Regions from separate parts of the Homo sapiens genome. Here region 2 is linked to region 1. The links are contacts of gene promoters, found by promoter capture Hi-C in human tissues and cell types (Jung and others, 2019). All regions are on one chromosome and are shown on one strand. Each heading gives the region's core, a stretch centred on a gene start or on the middle of the fragment in contact. The rest is flanking DNA. Distances are from core to core; before and after follow the strand shown.

Region 1 (5,515 bases), core at 1,632-4,131:
TGATTATCTTCACTGGCCCTTTCTTGCCCTGTTTGAAAGTCTGTGGGGACTCAACTTTGAGATGTGGAGTCCCAGCTCTGGACAACATGGAGTCATATTGATCAGCCACAGAAAGGAGAGGTGGCCCTTATGGTCAGCTGCACTGAAGATTGTGGGCTCTGGATGTCACCAAAGAAGAAGAAACTGTTCTGCCCCCTATTTTGCCCACCTCAAAAGAACAGACAGTAGGTAGCTGGAGTCCATGGCACGGTGGCTAAGCCAGGATGCTGGAGGCCGATCCCAGGCCTCACTCTGTCATCTAGGCTGGAGTGCAGTGGCACGATCACAGCTCACTGCAGGCTTAACCTCCCAGGCTCAGGTGATCTTTCTACCTCAGCCTCCTAGGTAGCTGGGACTACAGGTGTGCACTGCCACACTGGCTAATTTTTGTGTGTTTTTTGTTGAGACGGGGTTTCGCCACGTTGCCCAGGGTTCCACTTGTTTACTATTTCTTTTGAGCAAGTTCCTTACTCTTACTGAGCAACATCTGAAAAGTGAGGATAATAACAACATGGACCTCTTGCGCAAGTAATTCAGGTAAAGCATTTAGCACAGCTCCCGGCATGTGGGAGGCATTCAAAACAGATATTATTTCTGTTATTATCAAGCTAATGGGCCCCACAAGCAAAACTCAGCCTGCACCCCCAAATGCCCACCCCACTCTCTCCTCAGGAACAGGAGCATCTCAGAGACTGGGAGTGCAGATCCCCCTAATCTCCCCAAACTCATTCATACTAGACTTCACTGAGAGCTTCAGACAAGTGAGAAGATGAGACTTTGGGAACTGTCTCCCCATCCAAGTCTAGGCTTGGCAAATGTTCTTGTTTTCACTTATTGTGTCTGCCAGAGTCCACATGGAGCATGCTGGTTGCATTGAGATCTGAGAGTCTTTAAGACCCAAGTCACCTGTGCTAACGACCCTCCCCAGAGACCCAGCTCCCACCACAGGGCAGCAGCTGTCCTAAAATAGAGTCACAAAGACAGCTGTCTCCGTCTAAAGCAATCCTTGCAAGCATTTCCAGACTGTTGGTTCCTGGGCCAGCCTATTTCCTGGCCCGTCAGCCCCCTGCAGCAGACATAGCATCCTTTTCTTGGCAAGGACTTGTTCCTGCCGTTTTCTGCTAGGAGAGAACTTGCAGAGCCTCTCTTTGGAGCCCAGGCTGACTTGAATGGTGCCAAAGAGCAAGGTTCACCTCAGGAGCTCAGAGCCAATGTGCCAGCCCTCAGACATACAGATAGGCAAGGACAGTGTGGGCAGGGGAAGGAAGGGAAAGATATCCTGGCAAGGGGTTGATGTGTCTGTCTATATAACAGCATTCAACATTATTTAAGAAACATCATTAGCAAAATCCAAGTCCTCCCCATCAGGAACAAAGAAGACTATCTCTCAAGTTGGGCAAGCCCTTTGGAGGGGCTCAGAAGGAAAGGAGGGGAGCGCATGTGGGACCTGGGCAGACATTCCAGCCTTGGAGGCTGAGCAGCAGAACCTCCCCGACTCCTTCTCCTTTTCCAGACCCTCTCATTCTGGCCCAGGTCCCCAGGACCTCCTCCACTCAGGGAGACATGGAGCCATGATCCAGGCTTGACAGGTATAGCCATTTAAAACTGGGAGGCTGGCCTGGCCCTGCCAGCTGTTGCAGCATCTGGACTGCTCACCGGTCTTGCCTGTGCAAGCTGGACAGCAGGCAGATCAGAGGGGGGTGAGACAACAGTGACAGCCTGACAGGGCCGACTGGTGCCGCAGATGGCTGGTCCCTCCGCCTCCGGGCCACAGCCTTCCTGGGCACTCCCCCACGTGACCGGAGCAGGGCAGGAGAAAGGCATCGCTGACAAGGGTGAGCACTTAGAATCTCAGAGCTGGCAGGACTGTGTCCATCTTTAATCCCTTCAGGTACCAGCGAGGCTCAGAGAGGGCAGGGCACCTAGCCAAGCACACACAGCCAGTCGGTTGTGGAGCCCAGAGTATGCTTCAGACACCCAGACCCCTAATCCAGGGAGCTTTTCATGACATCACACTGCTGGTTGCTTAAAAATGGGATTGGATCCAAACGTACTGATGCGTAAAAGTGTCCAAGATCAGTTACACAGTTAAAAGTCTTTGGCCAATCCTACTGTTTTATGTAATCACATTTGTGTGAAATAACCCTACTAACCCATGTAATTGTATACACGAAAATAATAAACCTGGGGGCATGTACTTAGATTTATTAAGAGTAGTGGTTGAGGGACTTTCACTATGTATTTTTAAATGTCCTCTAATATTTAGATATTTTGACAAAAAGCTCAAACTACTTTTGAACAAGGGAAACAATAAAGAGGAACATGGGGTGGACCGGGCAACAGAGACAGCCCCTCCCTGCCACTTGCCCCACACAGCAAGCTGGGATTTCTGATTTGGATCTCTTCCTCGGATAGGGGATTTCTGGGGAAACCAGGAGTTTTGGCTCCATGGGTCTCCAGGGTTTGAGGAGTAAGAGCCACTTTCTTTTCCCTCTTCACCCCGCCCCTCTCCTGCCCCTTCAGCCCTGGGCAGGGGGACTAGAAGTGGGGCTGGGCAGGATCGGGAGGGCAGGCGGGCCAGACAGCGCCCCGCGGCCTGTCCATGAGCGGCCCATGCATTATGGAAGACGCGCGCTGGGCTCGCTCCCTGGTCCTTAAATGACAGCAAATGAGGTAAAGCCAGGAGGGTGGGGACGGAAGTGGGGTGGGAGGGGGGCAGAAGGAAGCCATCTCCAGGGCCCCCGAGCGTTGGCTGAGGACCAGAGCCAGCCAGTGAGCGGAGCCTGGGAGAGGGAGGAGCACATCTTGATGCAGAGATGCTGCAGTGGCTCCGGGCGCGCTCACACACACGCGCCCTCACCCGCCACCGCCGCCGCGGCCGCCGCCGCACCCGGACAGCGAGCGGCTGAGGCCGCCAGGGCCCAAAGGACAGCGGCCCAGACAGGGGCTGGCGGCCCGGCCGGCCCCGGCTCACCGACTCGGGCAGCATCCACCTGCCCCAGCCAACACCCTTCTCTCGCCCCAGGTAGGTGCCAACCGCTTTTGTCTCCTCCAACCCAGGGACTTCCCTGCGTGCTGTTATGGGCCGGGGCTCCCGGCTCAGTTCCTGTAAATATCCCCCTTGTAACTTGGGAGGGAACAGGGACAGGAACACTGGCAGGCTGGGGCCGTTCTGACTTCTCCCCTCAGCCCCAGGGTGGGTGCTGGGGCTCCCCTCCGCCCTGTCTACGTGGGCGGCATCCCGCAGGGCTCTCTCAGGCCGAGCCTGGCCGAAAAGCTGGACCCCAGGAGTGTGTCCAGGAATTCCAGTTGGCCAGCGGGCAGTGGCAGCTGCCTGTGGAGAGGGCAGTTTCTCCTGGGCCGGCCCTGGGCACCCGGTCCAGGACAGGACCAGTCCATACAGCCAGGCCCTGGGCCCTGGCCTGCCCCAGAAGTCCCTGCATGGAATTGAGCCGGAGTCCCCAGTTTTGAGGTCACCCAGGGTCTACCTCTGCAGGGTGACCTCTTTGCAAAGTCTTGCTTCAGCTGGATGGAGAGGGGGGCTGTGGAAGAGAGAGGGGAGAGTGGAGCACAAGTTTGGGCAAGGGCCTGTCCAGGAACTGGGACTCGGGGAGGAGAGTCCTGAGGCCAGTCACATCCCAAAGGGCGAGAGGCTGGGGCTACCGGGCTGAAATTCCTTTCCTTCCCTTCCCCCTCCCAACCTTAGCTTCTCCTCAAATCCCTCCCCCCCATCCTCACTGGTGGGAGGGAAGAATTTGCACAAAGTTTGGCTTTCCAGTAAGGAAAGGGGCTGGGGCCAGAATGGTATGGGGAAGGGAAGGGGCAGAGCTGGGGAGTTCTGGAAAGAGAGGGCAATCCTTCTGCCCAGCACCGTGGGGCTTACATAATGGGCTGGAGGTGGGGGGCAGCCCCAGCCAGTGAGTGTCCAGAGCTGAATCCTGTCACCTTCTCCAAGAGGGTCTCTCAGGTCTGGGAAGCAGCGGGGCATGGAGAAGGCAGTGCCTATGGAAGGGGAGAATCCTGCTGCTACTTGGGGATGGAGACGGGCACCCTCTAGCCCCAGACCCCTGGGGGTTGAGCCTGTGTCCTGGGGGGGGGGGTCCAGTGAGGCCAGGAGGGAGTGGGGTTGTGCATGCCATGGCCCCAGCCCTGGAGAAAGGTGGGTTTCAGCATCTTTTCCCTCTGCTCAGAAGGAGCTGGGAGGAGGAACAGCCCAAGAAACCCAGTGCACAGGTGATGTTCTGGTCTCGTCTGGGCAACAGTTTCGGCCTCCTCTCCCAACCGTCTGGCCAAAGACGCCTCAGCTCACTTAGCCTCCGAGTCTCTCTACCTCCTGGTCCCACTCAGAGGGGCCGGATGAGCCACTGGAGATCGAGTGCAGCAAAAGGTGGGCCACCTGTGGGAGAGGCTGCTGTGATCGCACCTGGACAGGGAGATGGCCTGGAGGTCACAACAGGTGCCCTCACTCCTGGCCTTGGGAGAAGGGAGCTCTCCCCTTAAAGACAGCAGCATCCAAGCCCCTCCCCAGGGTGCCCACCAGTTAACCCCTTTCTAGCCAAGCTGCAGAACCATGGACAGGGCTTTTGCCACAAGGTCAGAGTCCTTCCTAATCTCCCGTGGAAGTCCTCAGCGAATAAGAGGGAGGCAGGAGGTGAGACAGACAGGAAAGGGCCCCTGACCTGATGATGTCAAAGTCACCCAAGGTCCACCTGCCTCACAGGTGCAGAGACCACTGTGCTCACACCATGAGCGGTGAGGGAAGCAGAGGCACACTCCTTATGCAGATGAGTGCCTCAGACTCCAGGAGTCTGCTCTCATTCCCGGCTCTTTCTCTCTTACTCTCCTCCCTTCCTCTACTCCTTCTTTCCTCGCACTCCCTTCTCTCATCGCGTGTACTCCACCGGCTTCAGCCCTCAGCCTCCCGCCGCCACCATTTCCCCTGCCAGATTTCACTCCTTATGCAACTCCATTCCAGCACCTTCTCTGCCAGCAGTTGTTCAAATAGAGACACATGTGGGATGGGCCTCCGAGGAATTGTGCTTAACGGGGTGATTGCACATCTCGTCTCTGGCTGACCAAACTTACTCCTTAGGAGCATGTACATAGACAGGTGTACCCCAAGGCATCCTTTCTGCCTCTAAAGTCACCAGGGAAGCAACGCATTTGGGGTGGTTTGGAGGATGCATGGTGCCCTCTTCAGAAACCTCCTTGAGCCAAACGTTGGTGAGAAAGCGTATTTCAAAGACAATCTCTAAGCCTGAGTGTGGGTGGTATTTGTATTTTTGGAGGGATTCCTAGGGCAGAACCAGGGGGTTGGAGAAGAGGTGATTGATATGCAGGGGAGGAAGAACCAGAGCAAAGAATATGCCAGGGAAGCCAGAGGGACTTAAGTTAGACTGCAGGAGACACTTCCTGGCTAGAAGAGTGAGCCATGAGGAGGTGGGGCAGTCTCCTTTCAGATGACTCTAAGGATGGT
Region 2 (5,317 bases), core at 596-3,095, 220 kb after region 1:
GAGATAAATGTGAGGTTTGCCCCAGAGGGAGGCTACCCCATTCTTGATTTGAGGAGTGTCTCAGTGCAGGCTGGGGCTCCAGGCAAACTCTGCCTACATCCCCGTGTCCTTCTTTGCATCCCTGATGGGTGGAGTTGGGGACTGCAGGATCTAAGGAGGAGGCTGGTGGTGGGGAGAAGCTCTTAGATGCTTTCCTGAGGTTGGGCTCCAGGCTACAAGCAGGAATGAGCTCAGTCTCAACTAGGATCTCGTGGTGAGTCCGTAGTAAAAGTCTCTGGTTGGCAGGGGGAGTTATTGAAGGGAGTTAATTCAGATGGAAGTGGTTGCCGAGGTGTTCCAGCCTCGAATGCAAAAACCACAAACAGGATCTTGGTATCTCCCACAGAGTGTTCCCTCAAGCACCCCCCACCGCCTCCCGCAACACACACAAACCTCTTCTCTCTCTTGTTCTGAGGTTTGCCCACATGCATGCAGGTACACACACACACACCCCTAAGCACGAGACGGGGCTGGGTGGGCAAGTGGAGTCTGCATGGAGACCAGTGAGATTAAGGGTTACCTCCAGTGAGGAAGGCTGGAGATGCCACCGTGATGTCTTCAGAGGTGATTTTAAATGCTATGGCCAATATTTGGACCTTTCTAAGGATTTGCACGCCCTCAGATATGGAGAAGGCAGGACGGGGCTGGGGAGAACTCCTTTCTTTTTCCTTGCTCTCTCAGGGTGTAAAAACCCACAGTCTGGCCGAGTGCAGCTTGGCTCAGGCCTGTAATCCCAGCACTTTAGGAGGCCAAGGCAAGAGGATTGCTTAAGCCCAGGAGTTTGAGACCAGCCTGGGCAACATGGCAAAACCCTTTCTCTACAAAAAAATACACAAATTAGCCAGGTGTGGTGGCATGTACCTGTAGTCCCTGCTACTGGGGAGGCTGAGGTGGGAGGATTTGAGCCTGGGGAGGTCAAGGCTGCAGTGAACCATGATTACCTTACTGCACTCCAGCACTCCAGCACTCCAGCCTGGGCAGCAGAGTGATTCTGACTCAACAAAAAACAAAAAAAGCCTGCAGTCTTAGCTATATGAAATTCCAGTTTCATCGCTGTGGAGTGAGGCTGGGCTGTGGTTGATAACCACTGATTAGACTCTTGCTTCCTAAAAAGGTGGCAGAGGGCCAGCTCTCCCAGCCAAAGGTGTCTTAAGCTGTGGATCTGTCAGAGCTACCCAGCCCTCCAAGGTGAGGTTAGGCCCTGAGTTTTGGAGCCAGACAGGATTTATATTCTAGGTTCTTTACTTACTAGTGGTGTAGTCCTGGGCAAGTTACATCTGTAGGCCTTGGTTTTCTCTCCTGTAAAATGGAAATAATAGTGCTACCCATCTTGTGAGGTTAATACTGGGATTAAATGAATTAATAGGTGTAAACACTGAGAGACAAGTCTGACGTATGTCAAGAAATGTTAGTGTTTGAAGGAGATTGGTTCCAAGACCCCCTGCAGATACCAAAGTTCCAGATTGCTTAAGTCTCATACAGTAAATAGTGTAGTATTTGCATAGAACCTGCACACATCCTCCCTTTAAATCATCTCTAGATTACGTACAATACCTAGTACAATGTAAATACTATGAAAATAGAAAATAGTGTGACACTGTTGTTTCTTGTTTTTTGTTTTTTGTTTTTGTTTTTGAGACGGAGTCTCTGTCACCCAGGCTGGAGTGCAGTGGTGCAGTCTTGGCTCACTGCAACTTCCGCCTCCCAGGTTCAAGTGATTCTTCTGCCTCAGCCTCCTGAGTAGCTGGAACAACCGGAACATGCCACCACACTCAGTTAATTTTGTTTTTTTTTTTTGGGACGGAGTCTCGCTCTGTTGCCCAGGCTGCAGTGCAGTGGCGTGATCTCGGTTCACTGCAAGCTCCGCCTCCCAGGTTCGCGCCATTCTCCCGCCTCAGCCTCCCGAGTAGCTGGGACTACGGGTGCCCGCCACCACATCCCACACCCAGCTAATTTTTGTATTGTTAGTAGAGACAGGGTTTCACCATGTTGGCCAGGCTGGTCTCCAACTCCTAACCTCAGGTGATCCGCCCGCCTTGGCCTCCCAAAGTGCTGGGATTACAGGTGTGAGCCACTGCGCCTGGCCCCTGTATTTTAAAATTTGTATTATTATTATTTTAATCCATGGTTGGTTGAATCCATGGATGTGGAATTCTCAGATACAGAAGGCTAACTATAATTGTTATCCTTATCCTTTGTCCAAAACATTTAGAATTTGAGAAAAAGAGAAGAGCCCAGAGGCCATAGGGAAAATATGCCACCTTTCTGGAAGCCAGTGGAACTGAGTCCTCCACAGGGAAGAGAATAAAATGGGGATATGTTCTGTGACTGGAGACTGACCCGCTCAATCCAGGCATTGCAGACCTTCATGTCACCAAGGAGGTGTCCAGGCCTCTGTGGAGGGACGGAAGGAGCTGGTGTCCTGCTGCAGGACTGTTAGGCTCAAGTCTGGGTCCTAGGGTAGAGAAGAGGGGTGGACGAGGGGGCCAGGGCTTCAGCCCAGGCCTCTGCACCCACCATCAGGCCCCAGCTGTTTTTCCCAGGAGTGTTTCTTCTCCTCTCATTAATGGGGATTTCACAGCCAGCTTCAACTCCGCTTTTCCATTTGTAAGCCAGAAAGATGCCAAATCAAGGGAGGAGAGAGCCAAGCTGCTAGGAAGGAGCCACGGCAGGTGGAGACTTTGCTATTTTACACTCCTGTATAGTCCTAAAACACTTTTGCTTTTCACAGCATTTCACATCCATTTCTTATTAGCTCCTCCCACTCTCCCCCTAAGTAGTTGGGACAGACTCTGTCCCTGTTACAAAGATGAGCAAATGGCAGTGATGCAGCCAGACTCAGAACCCATTTTCTTTTCTTTTTTTTTTTTTTTTGAGACGGAGTCTCGCTCTGTCGCCCAGGCTGGTGTGCAGTGGCGTGATCTCGGCTCACTGCAACCTCTGCCTCCCAGTTCAAGAAATTCTCCTGCCTCAGCCTCCTCAGTAGCTGGGATTACAGGCGTCCGCCACCACGCCCAGCTAATTTTTGTATTTTTAGTAGAGACAGGGTTTCACCATGTTGGTTAGGCTGGTCTCGAACCCCTGACCTCATGATCCACCCGCCTCAGCCTCCCAAAGTGCTGGGATTACAGGCATGAGGCACTGCACCTGGCCCCAGAACCCATTTTCTAGATATTCTTTCTCCCAAGAAGACAGTGAAAGAGAGCTGGGCATCTGTGGAAAGGGCAGCAGCTTTATAAGAGAGACAGGTTCTGGGCTGGGCGTGGTGGCTCAAGCCTGTAATCCCAGCACTTTGGGAGGCTGAGGCGGGCGGATCATGAGGTCAGGAGATCGCGACCATCCTGGCTAACACGGTGAAACCCCATCTCTACTAAAAATACAAAAAATTAGCCGGGCATGGTGGCAGGCGCCTGTAGTCCCAGCTACTCGGGAGGCCGAGGCAGGAGAATGGCGTGAACCCCGGAGGCGGAGCTTGCAGTGAGCCAAGATTGCGCCACTGCACTGCAGCCTGGGCGACAGAGCGAGACTCTGTCTCAAAAAAAAAAAAAAAAAAAAAGTTCTGTAACATCAAAGGCCATGTGTTGCCTATAAAACATAATTTTGGGCCGGGCGCGGTGACTCATGCTTGTAATCCCAGCACTTTGGGAGGCTGAGGCGGGTGGATCCCCTGAGATGAGGAGTTGAAGAGCAGTCTGGCCAACATGGCGAAACTCCATTTCTACTAAAAATACAAAAAAATTAGCCGGGCGTGGCGGCTCATGCCTGTAATCCCAGCTACTCAGGAAGCTGAGGCAGGAGAATCACTTGAACCCAGGAGGCATAGGTTGCAGTGAGCTGAGATGGCCCCACTGCATTCCAGCCTGGGCGACAGAGACCCCGTCTCCAAAAAAAAACAAAAAACAAATAAAAAAAAAAAAACCGTTAATTTTGTGTAGTTCTAGCAATACAGAGTAAATTTGTTGGTATAATTTCTGAAATAAATTTAGGCCAGCTTGATTGCAGGCATTTTTTCTCCCAGGGGAAAAAAGGGATTACGCTGCCTAGATTCAGATTCAGCGTTTAATGAGCACCTTCTGTATGCTTCGCACTATGCCAGCTTGCCAGACGTCATCTTGTATAGCTCTCACAAAAGACCTGAGAGTAGCTGTGATTACCCGCTTTTTGTCGGCGAGGACACTGAAGGTCAGGAAAATGGAGAGATGGGCTTTTTGCTGTCACTGCAGGGAACAAGGCAGGAAGAAGCAGCCTAATTGCAGGTTAGGGTTTTAAGTCAGGCTACTGGGACAGTTAAGACCTTGGAGCAGATCACTTAAGGGAGACTGTGGGTATGAAAGGTCAGAAATTCTGAGAAGCAGAGTCCTGAAGGTATGAGCACCTGCTGGGAGGTCAAGGGGGGATGAGGGGAGACCCAAAGCAAACATAAGAGGGAAGTCCTGACTTCAGGAGTGATTAGGGATGGGGTTGTGGTTGTCCACAGCATCCCCAGGGGGAAGTGTAACCTGGAAAAGCCCCAGTGGAAGCCCACAGAGGAGCCGCCCTCCCCTGGCTCCTGAGTTTGGCAGGGCTATTATTTTCAATCGTGTTTTCCAATAACTTTGCACCTTGGCAGAATCAAGCCAAGTGACTTATGCCTGTAATTGGCAGGGACTGTTTCCAGTTCTGGTGCATGTGACTGGGCCACTATCTTTGTGTTTAACCCCTTCCCCCACATATATCTGACCACACCCCTGCCCCCTCCCATACATACTAAGGGCAAATGATCTGACCCAGCCTTGCTTGGGGTGTGCTGTGTGTAAAAATACATGGGGTTGAGCCATTTCCTGCTGCTTCCGTTGTTGTATGGCGATAAGACACTGGGGACTCAGCTGTGGACAGAAAGATCCTCCAACAGGCTGAGAGGAACCAGGCACCAGGGGAGCAGGTCTCAGGCCTCCCCGCTTTCAGCCCACCTTACATTTCCCATCTTTCCTATCTCCTGTGACCTTTTCCTCCTTTCTCTCCCTCCCCATCATCCTTTCTTAGTCTCTCTTCTCCTTTCCTTGTCTCTCCGACTTTGGTGCCACCCTGATGCACTCGGGAAGCCTGCCCGCCTGGTGGGGAGTGAAGGGGGCTGTCATTTCCTTCCTACGCATTCACCCTCTGCAAAGCTGGGCGGCTAGTAGCCTCAGGCCCCCAAACTGGTCCCTGCTTCCCTTGGCCTTTGAGTTACTTCTGGGGCTTTAGTCCTCGGGGACCTGGCCAGCAGGGTGGGGGTGGGGCATGCTCCTCTCCCAATTCT

Evidence for each region. Contacts are between HindIII fragments. The study calls those that stand out against the background at their distance.
Region 2: a contact is called between a fragment that was not itself captured here and the fragment with the promoter of CNTN2 in region 1, in 2 of the 25 tissues and cell types used here (dorsolateral prefrontal cortex and pancreas).

What each region holds. Positions count from the first base shown.
Region 1 is chr1:205,040,331-205,045,845 of GRCh38, forward strand. CNTN2 (contactin 2) reads left to right here and starts at 2,882. Exons shown (of 23, transcript NM_005076.5): 1 at 2,882-3,064. RefSeq lists enhancers at 2,576-2,720, 2,668-2,812 and cis regulatory regions at 2,648, 2,740. The HindIII fragment of the contact is 16,049 bases long and covers 1-5,515 here.
Region 2 is chr1:205,262,667-205,267,983 of GRCh38, forward strand. The region is part of intron 2 of TMCC2 (transmembrane and coiled-coil domain family 2); the gene reads left to right. Among named protein-coding and RNA genes, the nearest start is that of TMCC2-AS1, 28 kb to the left of the region's middle. RefSeq lists an enhancer at 599-1,296. The HindIII fragment of the contact is 8,685 bases long and covers 1-5,317 here.